Linked DNA regions of Homo sapiens: all the other regions are linked to region 1. The links are contacts of gene promoters, found by promoter capture Hi-C in blood cells and fetal thymus (Javierre and others, 2016). All regions are on one chromosome and are shown on one strand. Each heading gives the region's core, a stretch centred on a gene start or on the middle of the fragment in contact. The rest is flanking DNA. Distances are from core to core; before and after follow the strand shown. Region 1 holds the start of LAGE3 (L antigen family member 3). Region 2 has its middle 22 kb from the start of MECP2. Region 3 holds the start of MECP2 (methyl-CpG binding protein 2).

Evidence for each region. The method cuts DNA at HindIII sites, captures the fragments that hold promoters and counts their contacts. A CHiCAGO score of 5 or more calls a contact.
Region 2: a contact is called between a fragment that was not itself captured here and the fragment with the promoter of LAGE3 in region 1, in 1 of 17 cell types (activated CD4 T cells). The highest score is 5.1, in activated CD4 T cells.
Region 3: a fragment that was not itself captured here is called in contact with the fragment with the promoter of LAGE3 in region 1 in 3 of 17 cell types (fetal thymus, activated CD4 T cells and naive CD8 T cells); the score reaches 7.1 in fetal thymus.

What each region holds. Positions count from the first base shown.
Region 1 is chrX:154,476,591-154,480,620 of GRCh38, forward strand. LAGE3 (L antigen family member 3) reads right to left here and starts at 2,691. Exons shown (of 3, transcript NM_006014.5): 1 at 2,138-2,691; 2 at 1,693-1,821; 3 at 1,185-1,468. The coding sequence starts at 2,325. The coding sequence ends at 1,354. It overlaps PLXNA3 (plexin A3), which reads left to right. Exons shown (of 33, transcript NM_017514.5): 33 at 1-1,189. RefSeq lists a silencer at 2,085-2,304 and an enhancer at 2,566-3,065. The HindIII fragment of the contact is 14,076 bases long and covers 1-4,030 here.
Region 2 is chrX:154,118,265-154,122,083 of GRCh38, forward strand. No RefSeq gene overlaps it. Among named protein-coding and RNA genes, the nearest start is that of MECP2, 22 kb to the left of the region's middle. The HindIII fragment of the contact is 175 bases long and covers 2,410-2,584 here.
Region 3 is chrX:154,095,765-154,100,011 of GRCh38, forward strand. It overlaps MECP2 (methyl-CpG binding protein 2), which reads right to left and starts at 1,953. Exons shown (of 3, transcript NM_001110792.2): 1 at 1,840-1,953. The coding sequence starts at 1,901. RefSeq lists an enhancer at 969-1,058 and silencers at 1,379-1,458, 1,519-1,578, 1,555-1,793, 1,879-2,238. The HindIII fragment of the contact is 4,609 bases long and covers 1-4,077 here.

The DNA of each region.
Region 1 (4,030 bases), core at 1,441-3,940:
CTGAAGGCCAGTGCCACCGTCACCACTGGCAGAGCTCCCCAGATTCTACAAAGGGAAACTGTTCCTCCATATGGAGTAATAGGGACTGGATATGTCATGCCAAATGAAAGAACACGCCAAACCAGACAAAATATATGGAATGCAGAGTATTAAAAAACTGGCTGTGGGCCAGTGAGGGACAGCGACGTGTGGGAGCTGGGAAACAAGGTAAGCCATGCGACTGGCCCAGTGTCCTGTGTGGAGTTTCCTGGTGGAGCCTGGCAGACACCCGGACTTTAGGAGTTGAAACTGATTCAGAGCGTCCCAGCAGCTGGAGTTTGCAGGGCGGAGAACCAGAGAGAAGAGAGCTGCACAGGGAAAGAACCCTGGATATCCACAGAGGCTCCCGTTCCAGTGTGCAGCGGACTACGACTACTGGTGAGCACAGGCGTGTGAGGAAGCTACCCAAGACCAGGGAAGGCCATCACCCCAGCAGGAGAGGATGAACGGTAACTCCAGTGTGCAAGCAGGACAGGGACTAGCAGCTGTCCCCACCCACCAGGATAGAGAAGCTCATGTTCACCTAGGCAGCACTGGCCAGGGTGCCCAGAATGGTGTTTGTTGCCTCCATAGAGGGAAACAAGCCTACAGTTAAGAGCTGCTCTGGTCCCACACAGCACATCTTCAAAGCAAGACTCAAAAGGATCAAACCATTTCCTTGTTTTCTGAGAATAAAAGCAGTTGTACCTCTTCCTTTTCACTCTCAGAAAATCTGATAGAATCTATAAAAGAGCCCTAAGGCTGGAGACACTGTATTTTCCAGGGAGCCAACTCCTTGCCCCAGACACTAGTCAATTGCCCCAGCACTTTCTTCACTGATCGTTAGAGGAAAAAAGCTCATGTTAGATTTAAAAATCAGGAAAAAAATTTAACACTAAACTTGCAAATATTATGTGGTGTATATTACAGTTACACATTTACTATGTAAGTGCAACTGTAAAACTGAGGAAGTATTCCAAAATGTTGACAGTAGTTAATCCTGAATGACAGAACCCAATTGATTTTCATTTTCTTCCATTTCCTAAATTGTCTTCAATTTCCTTGTACTCCTTGAATATCTGAATTCTAGAACCCCCCCCCCAGCAACCCAAGCACAACAAGAATATTGGGAGGTGCCCCAGCTGCAAATAAACTCAGACTTGGAATAGTAGCGCAGTTTTATTTTCTGTAGTAACAAACATTTAAGAACCAGATAAAACATGAGGCCCTCCCAGGAAAGTAGCAACTGTGGGAATTCCTGCCCTAGGGAAGGATGGACGCACTGCCTACAAGGAGACGCAAAGTGGGACCTCGCTCCATTTGCCCAGGCCAGGCTTAGCGGGAAACGGGGGGCCCAAAGCGCTGCATGGTCCGCACCACCAGGGAAAGCTGGTCAAGAAAGTTGATGACGGAAATTCGGAGCAGGCGACAGTCTTCAGCTTTCCAGCGGCTAAAAGTGAGGGGAAAAGAAAATCAAATTGGAGGTGGCAACTCCTGGTCCCTCGCTCTGCCCCTCAGGCACCCAATATAGCAAACCCTTGGGAGCCCTGCCATTACACAGCCCCTCAGGCAGAGACCGGCCCAGCGCACCTGGCGCTCCTTAGGGCTCATCCTTGGATGTCCCCCATGTCTCCATGGGCCGCCTCCCCCAACCCCGTCCCTTTCAGAACTTACACGACCAGGATCCTGCCACTCACTGTGAGATCCTTCCCAACCACCCTTTGGTGGGGCTCGGCATCTGGTGCCAGGGACCCATGGGCGATTTCCGCCTCCAAGGGGGTCGGGAAAGGCACGCTGAGGGTGCTGGGGGTCATTCGGTTAAGGTGCCATCTGATACGATCTTGCCTATGTCTCAGGCCTTCTTGCTCCTCTGAAGCCCCCTCTCAGGTCACCCTGCCTAGTGTCACCCCCTTCACTCCTTACCTCGCCCAGGCCACCGTTAGCAGAGCTTCTCCCTCCATTTCAATGTCTTCCCCTCCTCCGACCACCTCTGACCGTATACGCCAGCCCCGGTCCCCCCCTGCTACCCTTTCCGTCGGCCCCCCGCCCGCCCTCCTTTCCTTCTCCCCGAGTCCAGCCCTCGCTCCGCCGCAAGCAGCCCCCAGCTCGGAAAGGATACAATATGTGCGGCCGCATTCGTGACCCCCTGGCCGCAGACGCGGCGTCTCTGCCCGGACCTGGCGCGTGCGCTGGGGGAGCTCCACCGGCCGGAGCTGCGGCTGTGTCCACGCCCCCGCGGCAGCTGTGGCCACCCCGGCCATCCCCGCCGTCAGCGCCTCCGCCTGCGTCTGCATCCGCGTCCCGCATGACCGCCGCCGCGCCGCTCCGACTCCACCCCCGAAGCGCAGGTCCTACGCCCCGCCCTCTCTGTGGCTCCTTCCCGAAGCCCCGCCCCCTGCGCACGACTCCGCCCACACGCGCCTGCGCAGGTCCCTGGAGAGCCTGACTGGCGCGTGGTCAGTTCCCGCCAAGCGGCCCTGCCGGGGGCCTTCTGAGACCCGGTCAGCGGTTGAGAGGCTGCGGTTTCCTCCAGAAACTCTGCCCTTTCGCGCGTAACTCGATTCCAGAGCGCTGGTGCAAACTGACCCACAGTCGGTCCGGCCCCAGGAAGCCAACCCTGACGGGGCTTTTGAAGACACCGTGGTCGCCTATCCCAGAGGCGCACCCCGCGAGGCTCCGCCCCTAAGCGCGCCTTGTGACCTTAGCGCGCCTGCGCTGGCGGGGCCTTCCCCCTTGTCCCTGGAGGCCCCAGTGAGGCCCTGCGGTGCCTGGACGGCTTCCCGCCCCGTTTCTTACCTGGACCCAAGAGCCCCAGGAGATGTGGCACAACGTCCATGTTGCGATTCGCAGAGGGAGGGTGGCCGGGTCGGGTAACCCCCAAGGATACTGCTCTTGCCCTCAACCCCAGTGCCCAACCAACGGGGCTTCACCATGGACTGTGAAGCATCGGATGTGCATTTTAGAGGAAGCATTTTAGAGCGGGTGGGCTGTGCAGAGCGGGGGAGCCTGTCAGCAGGAGGCCTGCACGGAGGCGAAAAATGACAGGGCCTTGAATGAAAGTACTGGCGGTGGGTCTAGGTCTAATATAACGTGAAAAATCAGACTGCACAACTATGAGTATGAAAATGCCAGTTTAGGCCAGGCAAAGTGGCCCCCGCTTGGAATCCCAGCACTTTGGAAGGCCAAGGGAGGAGGATCACTTGAGCCCAGGAGTTCAAGACAAACACAGGCAACATAGTGAGACCCCGTCTCTACAAAAAATACAAAAATAAATTTTAAAAGTTAGCTGGGAGTGGTGGAGCGTGCCTGTAGTCATAGCTTCTTGGAGGCTGAGGAGGGTTGATTGCTTGAGCCCGGGAGTTCGACACCAGCCTGGGCAACATAGTGAAACCCTGCCTCTACAAAAAATACAAAAATTAGCTGGGTGTGATGGTGCACACCTGTGGTCCCAGCTACTAGGGAGGCTGAGATGGGAGGACAGCCTGAGCCCGGGAGGCAGAGGCTGCAGTTAGCCGTGATCGCCCCACCGCACTCCAGCCTGGTTGATAGAGCCAGACCCCGCCTCAAAAAATAAAAGAAAATGCCAACTTAGTCTCTTACTGTACATATGTAGAGAAATCCTAGAACAATACAGCGTCAGGTAAATCCTCATGATCTCTGCTAATAGTATGGTGGGTGACTTTAATTTCCTTTTTGTGTTTTCCCTCCAATTTTTCCGAAGTGGTCTTTTATGACATTTACAATAAAAAAAAAAGTATTTAAAGTGACATCAGTCCGGGCACGGTGGCTCACGCCTATAATCCCAGTACTTTGGGAGGCCGAGGCGGGTGGATCACTTGAAGTCAGGAGTTCAACACCATCCTGGCCAACATGGTGAAACCCCCGGCCCTACTAAAAATAACAAAAATTAGCTGCGTGTCGTGGTGTGCGCCTGTAGTCCCAGCTATTCGGGAGGCTGGGACAGAAGAATCACTTGAACCCGGGAGGTGGAGGTTGTGGTGAGCCGACATCA
Region 2 (3,819 bases), core at 1,247-3,746, 360 kb before region 1:
TTATTATCATTATTTTAGAGATAGGTCTCACTCTGTCTCCCAGGCTGGAGTACAGTGGCAATCATAGTTTACCGTAACCTTGAACTCCTGGGCTCAAGTGATCCTCCTGCCTTGGCCTTCCAAGTTGCTGGGGCCACAAGTGCATGCCACAATGCCTGGCTAGTTTTTAAATTTTTTGTAGCAACTAGGCTTCCCTATGTTTGTTGCCCAGGCTGGTCTCAAACTCCTGGCCTCAAGCAATCCTCCTGCCTCAGCCTCCCAAAGTGCTGAGATTGCAGGTGTGAGCCACCACACCCAGCCTCTGTATACTTTAAGCAACACACACTTTGTTTTATGTAGGCTATACCTTGATAAGGCTGTTTGAAATAGAGTGCATCAAATATATTGCGCAGTTTAAAGAACAATTCTAAATTGAACACCCATGCAACCATTTGCTTACCCCTAGTAATGGAGCTATTCTCATTTTATTCTTAAAGATTCATCGTTTTGCCCTTCATATTTAGGTTTTCAATCTGTGTAAAATTGATTTTTGTAATGGTGTGAAGTAGAGGTACAGCTTCCTTCCTTTTCCTTTTTTTACAGTTTCTCTTTCTTTCTCTTTTTTTTTTTTTTTCAGACAGTCTCAATCTGTCACCTAGGCTGGAGTGCAGTGGCGAGATCTCGGCTCACTGCAACCTCCACCCCCCGGGTTCAAGTGATTCTCCTGCCTCAGCCTCCCAAGTAGCTGGGATTACAGGCGTGTGCCACCACGTCCAGCTAACTTTTGTATTTTTAGTAGAGGCGGGGTTTCACCATGTTGGCCAGGCTGGTCTCGAACACCTGGCCTCAACTGATCCACCCGCCTCAGCCTCCCAAAGTGCTGGGATTACAGGCGTGAGCCACTGCGCTGGCCTTTTCTTGTTTATGATCTCCAGGGGATGCTTTCAACTTTTTGTCATTAAATATGATGATGCTATAACTATTTTAATAAATCCTTTGCTAAGGAAGTTCATTTTAATTCCTAGGCTCCTGACTTTTCTTTGTAATCATGAATGGATATTGAATTTTATCCAGTGCTTTTTCTGTGCTTATTGTGGTGATCATGTAATTGGTATTTTTTTTAATTTTTTTTGAGACAGGGTCTCGCTTTATCACCCAGGCTGGAGTGCAGTGGCATGATCTCAGCTCACTGCAGCCTCAACCTCCTGGGCTCAAGCGATCCTCTTGCCTCAGCTCCCCAAGTAGCTGGGATGACAGGCATGTGCCACCACCGGCAATTTGTGTGTGTGTGTGTGTGTGTGTGTGTGTGTGTGTGTGTGTGTGTCTATTATTTGTAGAGATGAGGTTTCACCATGTTAACCAGGCTGGTCTCAAACTCCTGAGTTCAAGCAATCTGCCTGCCTTAGCCTCCCAAAGTGCTAGGCTTACTGACATGAGCCACCATGCCCTGCTGATCATGTAATTTTTCTTCTTTAACATTAATTTGGTTAATTACAATAAATGATTTTATATTATTAAACTAACTTTGCACTCCTGAGATAAACACATCTTGGTCACCATGTATTATCTTTTTTTTTCCTTTTGTTTGGTTTTTTTTGAGACAGCATCTCGCTCTGTCTCCCAGGCTGGAGTGCAGTGGCACAATCTCGGCTCACTGCAACCTCCACCTCCTGGGTTCAAACGATTCTCCTGCCTGACCCTCCCGAGTAGCTGGGATTATAGGTGCACGCCACCAGGCCCAGCTAATTTTTTGTATTTTTAGTAGAGACTGGATTTCGCCATGTTGGCCAGGCTGGTCTTGAACTCCTGACCTCAGGTGATCCACCCGCCTCAGCCTCCCAAAGTGCTGGGATTACAGGCGTGAGCCACCGTGCCCAGTCCAGTCACCATGTATTATCTTTTTTACATATTGCTAGTATTCTGTTTGGGATTTCTGAATCTCTGCCTACAAGTGAAGTTGGCTTATAATTTTCTTTCTCATAATGTCCTTGACAGGTTTTGGTTTCAAGGTTATGTTTGCCTTCTAACAAGAGTGGAGCCTCTTTTTCTTAATTCTCTGAAAGAGTTTGTGTAAAATTAGAACTATTGCTTCTTGAATATTTGATAGATCTTGCTGATGAAGTCATCTAGGCCTAGAGTTTGGTTTGAACGGAAGATATTTTATTACTAACAAAAAATTTATAATTATATGACTATTTAGGGTCTTTGCTTTTTCTTGAGTCAATACTGGTAATTTCTTTTTCTAGGACTTTGTTCATTTCAACTGTATTTTCAAATGTATTGGCACAAAGTTATTCACAATAGCCATTACTTTAAAATCCTGTCTGCATCTGTGGTTATAGCCATTTTCCATTCATAGTATAGTTTCCATGTGCCTTTTCTCTTGTTTCTCTCAATGAGGACTGTAAATGTCATTAGTCCTGCCAGGGAAGCTTCTGCCTCTGACAGGCGTCACTGCTTTGCTCCCTGCTCTAAGGAGTCACCTGTGTGAAGTTTTTCCTTTTCCCATCAATCATGTCGCCATCCTCCTGGCAACAGTATAGATTGGTGTCTGACGTAGGAATGACACAAAGACCCCATCCAAAAGTAGCCAAACTTTATTTCAAGCTTAAGAAAATGCATATTTTCTCCAAACTTAAGCAGAACATTGTTATGAGAAAAAAACTGGACTTTCTTGCACTGTATTTCTTTTTTAGGGGGAGGGGGGAAGGGGAGATGGAGTCTCGCTCTGTCGCCCAGGCTGGAGAGCAGTGGTGCGATCTTGGCTCACTGCAACCTCCGCCTCCTGGGTTCAAGCAGTTCTCTGCCTCAGCCTCCCAAGTAGCTAGGATTACAGGCGCCCACCATCACGCCCGGCTAATTTTTGTATTTTTAGTAGAGACAGGGTTTCACCATGTTGGCCAAGCTGGTCTTGAACTCCTGACCTCATGATCCACCCGCCTCGGCCTCCCAAAGTGCTGGGATTACAAGCGTGAGCCACCGCACCCGGCCTCTTGCACTGTATTTCTGTTGGAAGATCACAACCATGTTGCTCATTCTTTCTTATTAAGATTCCCATATCTGGTGTTTCTTGGAGATGTATCTAGGTCAACATGACCCAGGTTTAACCCAAACAACTCATAAAAACATGGCAGACTTTTAGCCCTTGGGAAATGAACTTGCTTTGGCCCTACTGAAGAGACTCATTTAAACCCTCCTCTTCCTCTGAAGCCTGTCCCTGAGAACTCCACCTTCCCTTTCTCTTTTCAGGCTGCCTGGCTGCACTTGGACCTACGCTCATCATCTCTTTGGCTGTTTCCATTGTTTAGAGGTTCCCCTCAATGTCCCTGGCCTCAGGATAGCTGCCACTGGAGCACAGCCCTGGCCTGGGAAGTCCCAGCAGGACCCCAGAGGCTCCTTGAGTCTCTTACCTTCCTTCCCAGGAGGACTGTCACTGAGGGGGGAGCCGAACTTTGGTCACAGCAATTGAGCTGCTTTCTAAGCTCTCATCTGTCCAAGTGTGATGTCCACTGGAAGTTTCTGGTCCTTTGGCCCATTTTGATTAGTTCCTCTTGTCTTCCAGGGTGAGAGACCAAAAGTCCTGTTTCTGTAAATCATGGCTGTGTGCCAGTATACAAAACTGACAAGACCCCTTAGGACATTTGTCTTCCAATTTTGAAACCGGAAGCCTGGATGAAGTGTCCTGTCTCCCAGATTGAAATCTTGGAAAACCTGTTTGTGACACCATTGGTTATCTTCTCTGTGCTTCCCGTCTGTGGCCAGAATTGTGCCCAAGAGCCTGGGCCAGAGCCAGCCGAGTAGCCCTGCCCTGTGGACCCAGGGGTCTTTTTATAGTTAACT
Region 3 (4,247 bases), core at 523-3,022, 380 kb before region 1:
TCCTAGACTTCCTCATTGGGATTTGAAATAGAAATCCTGAAAAGCCCATAAAAGCCTATTTCCCTAAATCCTTGGTGGAAATTCCCAAAAGATTAAAAAATCCAGACCCTGTCTTATTATAGGGACCCAGCAGATTTCAAAAGACTCAAGAGGTCAGCTTAATCTGGTTATTAACTGAAATTGCTGAGATACTGATGAACATTCCAGCCATGGAACCCAAAATTCTCTAGAGTAATAATTACCTATTAGTGCAATGTTACTACTGAGGCCGTATATGCTTCATTTTTACAGTATAACAAAATGTCTAAAACTTATGAGAGTCCTACAACGTCTAGGCCACTCAGTATCACATCCAAGTAGGTATGGTTCCTGGATCACCAACCAACCCCTGAATTCGATCCTGTTATCTCACAGTCTGGGGTACTGATCCCGCACAGCAGAGACACAACGTGTGAAAGGCTCGGCAGAGCCCATTCCTGTTCCTGGAAAAATAACCAGAAGCACACATCTGCCTGACCATGAGTCAGGAATATCAATTTTGTGGTGGAGCCCATTTCTGCTGTGACCAACCCACACCCGAACACACTCGCAACAGAAGCAACCGCCACAGAGCAATTCCAGAATGAGCTTTTTCCCCCTCGGGGTCCATACTTAGCAATGTCATAAACGGTCTCCCCTGCGACAGCAATCCTTTTACACTCTTCATAATGACCTTAAGTCTTTAGTGCAAAACCACAGAAACATTGCCACTGCCATATAAAAGTCATCTGAGTTTCAGTTTGGGTGATTCGGTCATGACCAAACTGAACAGAGGATAACCTTTCAGGCACAATTAACAGGAGCCACAGCGTCGCGATGAACTTGCCCCATCTGGTACCGGTGATCCCGAGCGCTCCAGGGCGATGAGAGCCCGTTACCTACTATGTCCCACTCCACTTATGTAACTGGAAGATCGCCGGCGAAGGGGAGGGTAGGATGGGAGGGTGCTCACATTCCGAGGCCACAGCACTCCAAAGAACCTCTGAGCACCCTGGGGACACGCTCGCACCTTAGAGCCTCTGGCGCCGAAGAGCCTCGGGTGCTGCTGGACGCACAGTCCCCTACCCACGGCTCCTGATGGGAACTATAACCACCTCTTTATGATGAGTTGTGGGACCCAGAACACAATGTCTAGTCCCTTTTGTGGATAATAATCCCCACCTACTTGTTCCTGCTAGATGGGGAAAGGAGCCGGTGGACCTACTCGCTCGCGGGGGGGTAGCGGGGGGCAGAAATTCATGGAATGGGCGAGAAGGAGGGGGAGGCAAAGCCCAGAGATGGGGGTGAGAGCTCAGGAGCCCTTGTGGCGCACTCTCCCGACGGGAGGCGAAGTGCGCACGCGCGCCGGTGGGGGGGCCGAGTAACGGGAGAGGGGGCGCGCGAGGGAGGGAGGGGGAGAGCGCGATCCAGGGAGAGGCCGGGGCCGCGGGCGCGCGACGGCGCCGCGGCCCAAAGCCCCGAGAAGGGCAGGAGCGCGCGCAGCCCCGACAGGCGAAGCCCCGGCGACAGGGGCGCCCGCGGGGCCGGGGGCCGGGATGCGCGTCGAGGGCGGGAGGAAGAGGGGCGTCAGGCGAAGGCGGCTCCAGGGAGGCCGCGCCGAGGACGGTCACCCGCGAGCAGGGGTGACGGGCCGAGGGGAGAGTCGCCACCGGCGGCGGCGGGAGGGGGAGGGTAGAGAGGAGGGACGCCATCCGCCAGCCGTGTCGTCCGACCCCGCGGGCCCCTCCCGCGCCACGTCCCGCCCCTGACCCCCGCCCCCCGGCAAGGGTCCCCGCCCGCGGCCACGGCGGTCCCACTCACAGTCTCTCCTCCTCGCCTCCTCCTCCTCCTCCGCTCGGCGCGGCGGCGGCGGCGGCGGCCATTTTCCGGACGGCTTTTACCACAGCCCTCTCTCCGAGAGGAGGGAGCGCGCGCGCCGCCGACGCCGGGACCCCGCACGGCCGACGTCGCGCCCCGCCCTCTTGGCCGGCCCGCGCGCTGCTGCACCTGCGCGCCCGCGCCCCGCCCTCGGCGCCGCTGCGAGCCCGCCCGTCATTGGCTGTGATGGCCGGGCTGGGACGGGGAGGACGGGGGAGGGGGGAGTCTCAGCGGCGATGCCGTCAATTGGCGAGATTTCCTGTCCATTTCGGCCAGGGAAAAGGGGGCGGACCCCTCCAGCTGTTGATTGGCTGCTTTCGGCCGTCGTTTGGGGAAAAGAGGCGGCTTGGGCGCGGAGGGACTGGTTTAGTGGGCGGAATTTGAATGTTAAGGATTAATGGACCCTTGCGGATGCTGGGGCAAGTGAAGGCCTAGGCTTGGGACGCCTGTTTGCGCTGCTCTGAGGGGCGATTGACCCTCTGTCCACAGATGCACCGAGTGCGCTGCAATAAGCGTTTCATTGCACCCACATTTTCTCAATATCACTATCTTCGGCAGAAGCAGCAAAGTTGCCCACCCTGGAGCCTGACGTTGCCCCAGCTGAGGGGCCTTGGTTTCAGAGGCCTACTCAATGCATTATTTCATCCGAGCCTGCCCAGTGCTCACACTCTCATAGAGGCGGGGAATAAACTGACAACAAATCGCAACCCTGGCTTTCGCAGAACTCTGGCGGGGGAAGAGAGTGCATGCCAAGGCCTCGTGACACCTGTCACTGTTGGATCAGATGGTTTGGTGGAGGTGTGAATAAGGGGCAATGTTAGCTCTGCCTGGAAGATATGATTTGGGAGCTGAGATCCAGCAATTTTTCACTTTCCTAGAAGAGTTGATTTGGAGCTGAGATCCAGCAATTGTGTTTTGGGAAAATAAGAGTATGAGAAAACTGTTAGCTAACCAGGTGTTCAGGACAGGAGTGTTTGTTAAGGGGACCTTACCCTGATGCCAGTCATTATCCAATCCATTCAATGATCCTTCTGTTAGTTCTATGCTTAGCAAGAAAACCTGATTCTGATTTGGCTGCTTGCCCCCATTCATTTATTGACTACCTGCTATGTGCCAGGCACTCTTCCAGGCTCTGGATGCACGGTACTGAACAGACAGCAAACTAACATTCTTGCCGGGAAGATTCATACTAGCATACAAATAAGTATAATATATCATTTCACATAGTGATAAGGGCTTTGAGAAAGATAAACTAAGTGAAGGGGGTGCTATTTAGATATCTGCTGGTTTTCACCCTCATTTTACTCCCTCATATGAATATCTGGGGAAAGAACATTCCAGGCAAGTTCAAAGGACATGAGGAGAGACTATGCCTGGCATGTTGGGGACTAACGAGGAAGTCAGTGTTGCTGGAGAGTGGTAGGGAATGTGATTGGAAAGGCAGCTGGGGCCACTATGAGAACTGGGAGTTCATTCTTTTTTGGGGGGGGTGGGGATGGGGTCTCATTCTGTCACCCAGGCTGCAGTGCAGTGGCGCAATCTTGGCTCACTGCAACGTCCACCCTGAGCTCAAGCGATCCTCCCTCCTCAGCGTCCTAAGTAGCTGGGACCACAGATGCGAACCACCACGCCTGGCTAAGTTTTTGTATTTTTGATAGAGATGGGAGTTCACCATGTTGCCCAGGCTGGTCTCAAACTCCTGAGTTCAAGTGATCCGCCCGCCTCGGACTCCCAAAGTGCTGGGACTACAGGCGTAAGCCACCGCACCCGGCCAGAACCGAGAGTTTATTCTAAGATGAGAAGCCCTCAGAGGATTTTGAGCCAGGAGCTGTCTGATCTATGTTGCAGGTGTAGAGTGGAGAACTGGACGTGATGAAACAAAACTACAGCACAAGGCTAGTTGCAAGGCCCTGGAACAGTCTAGGAGAAAGAGTTGATGGTAGCTTTAACTAGGGTGGCAGCAGTGCAGCTCTGAGAAGTTGTGAGATTCAAGATATGTTTTCAGAACTGAACAAAAGGATTGGATGTAGGGCATAGAGCAAGGGAAGAAACAAGGATGATTCCTGAGATTGGGGCCTGAGCAACTGGGGAAATAAGGGTGCTTTTCACCATAGTGGGGAGAACTACAGGAAAAGTACATTTTCAGAGGTGCAGATCAAGAGTTCTGCTTTGGCTGTATTAAGCTTGGGGTGCCCAGTGGTGTGAAAGTGGAGATGTTGAGTAAGCCATTGGGTGTGCGATGCTGAAGTATAGAGATGCGGCTAAAGCAGTCCAAAAGTCATCACGCTGAACATCCAATTCAAGAAGCCATAAAGAAATGACAGAGTAAGCCTGCAAAAGTAGAAGAAAGA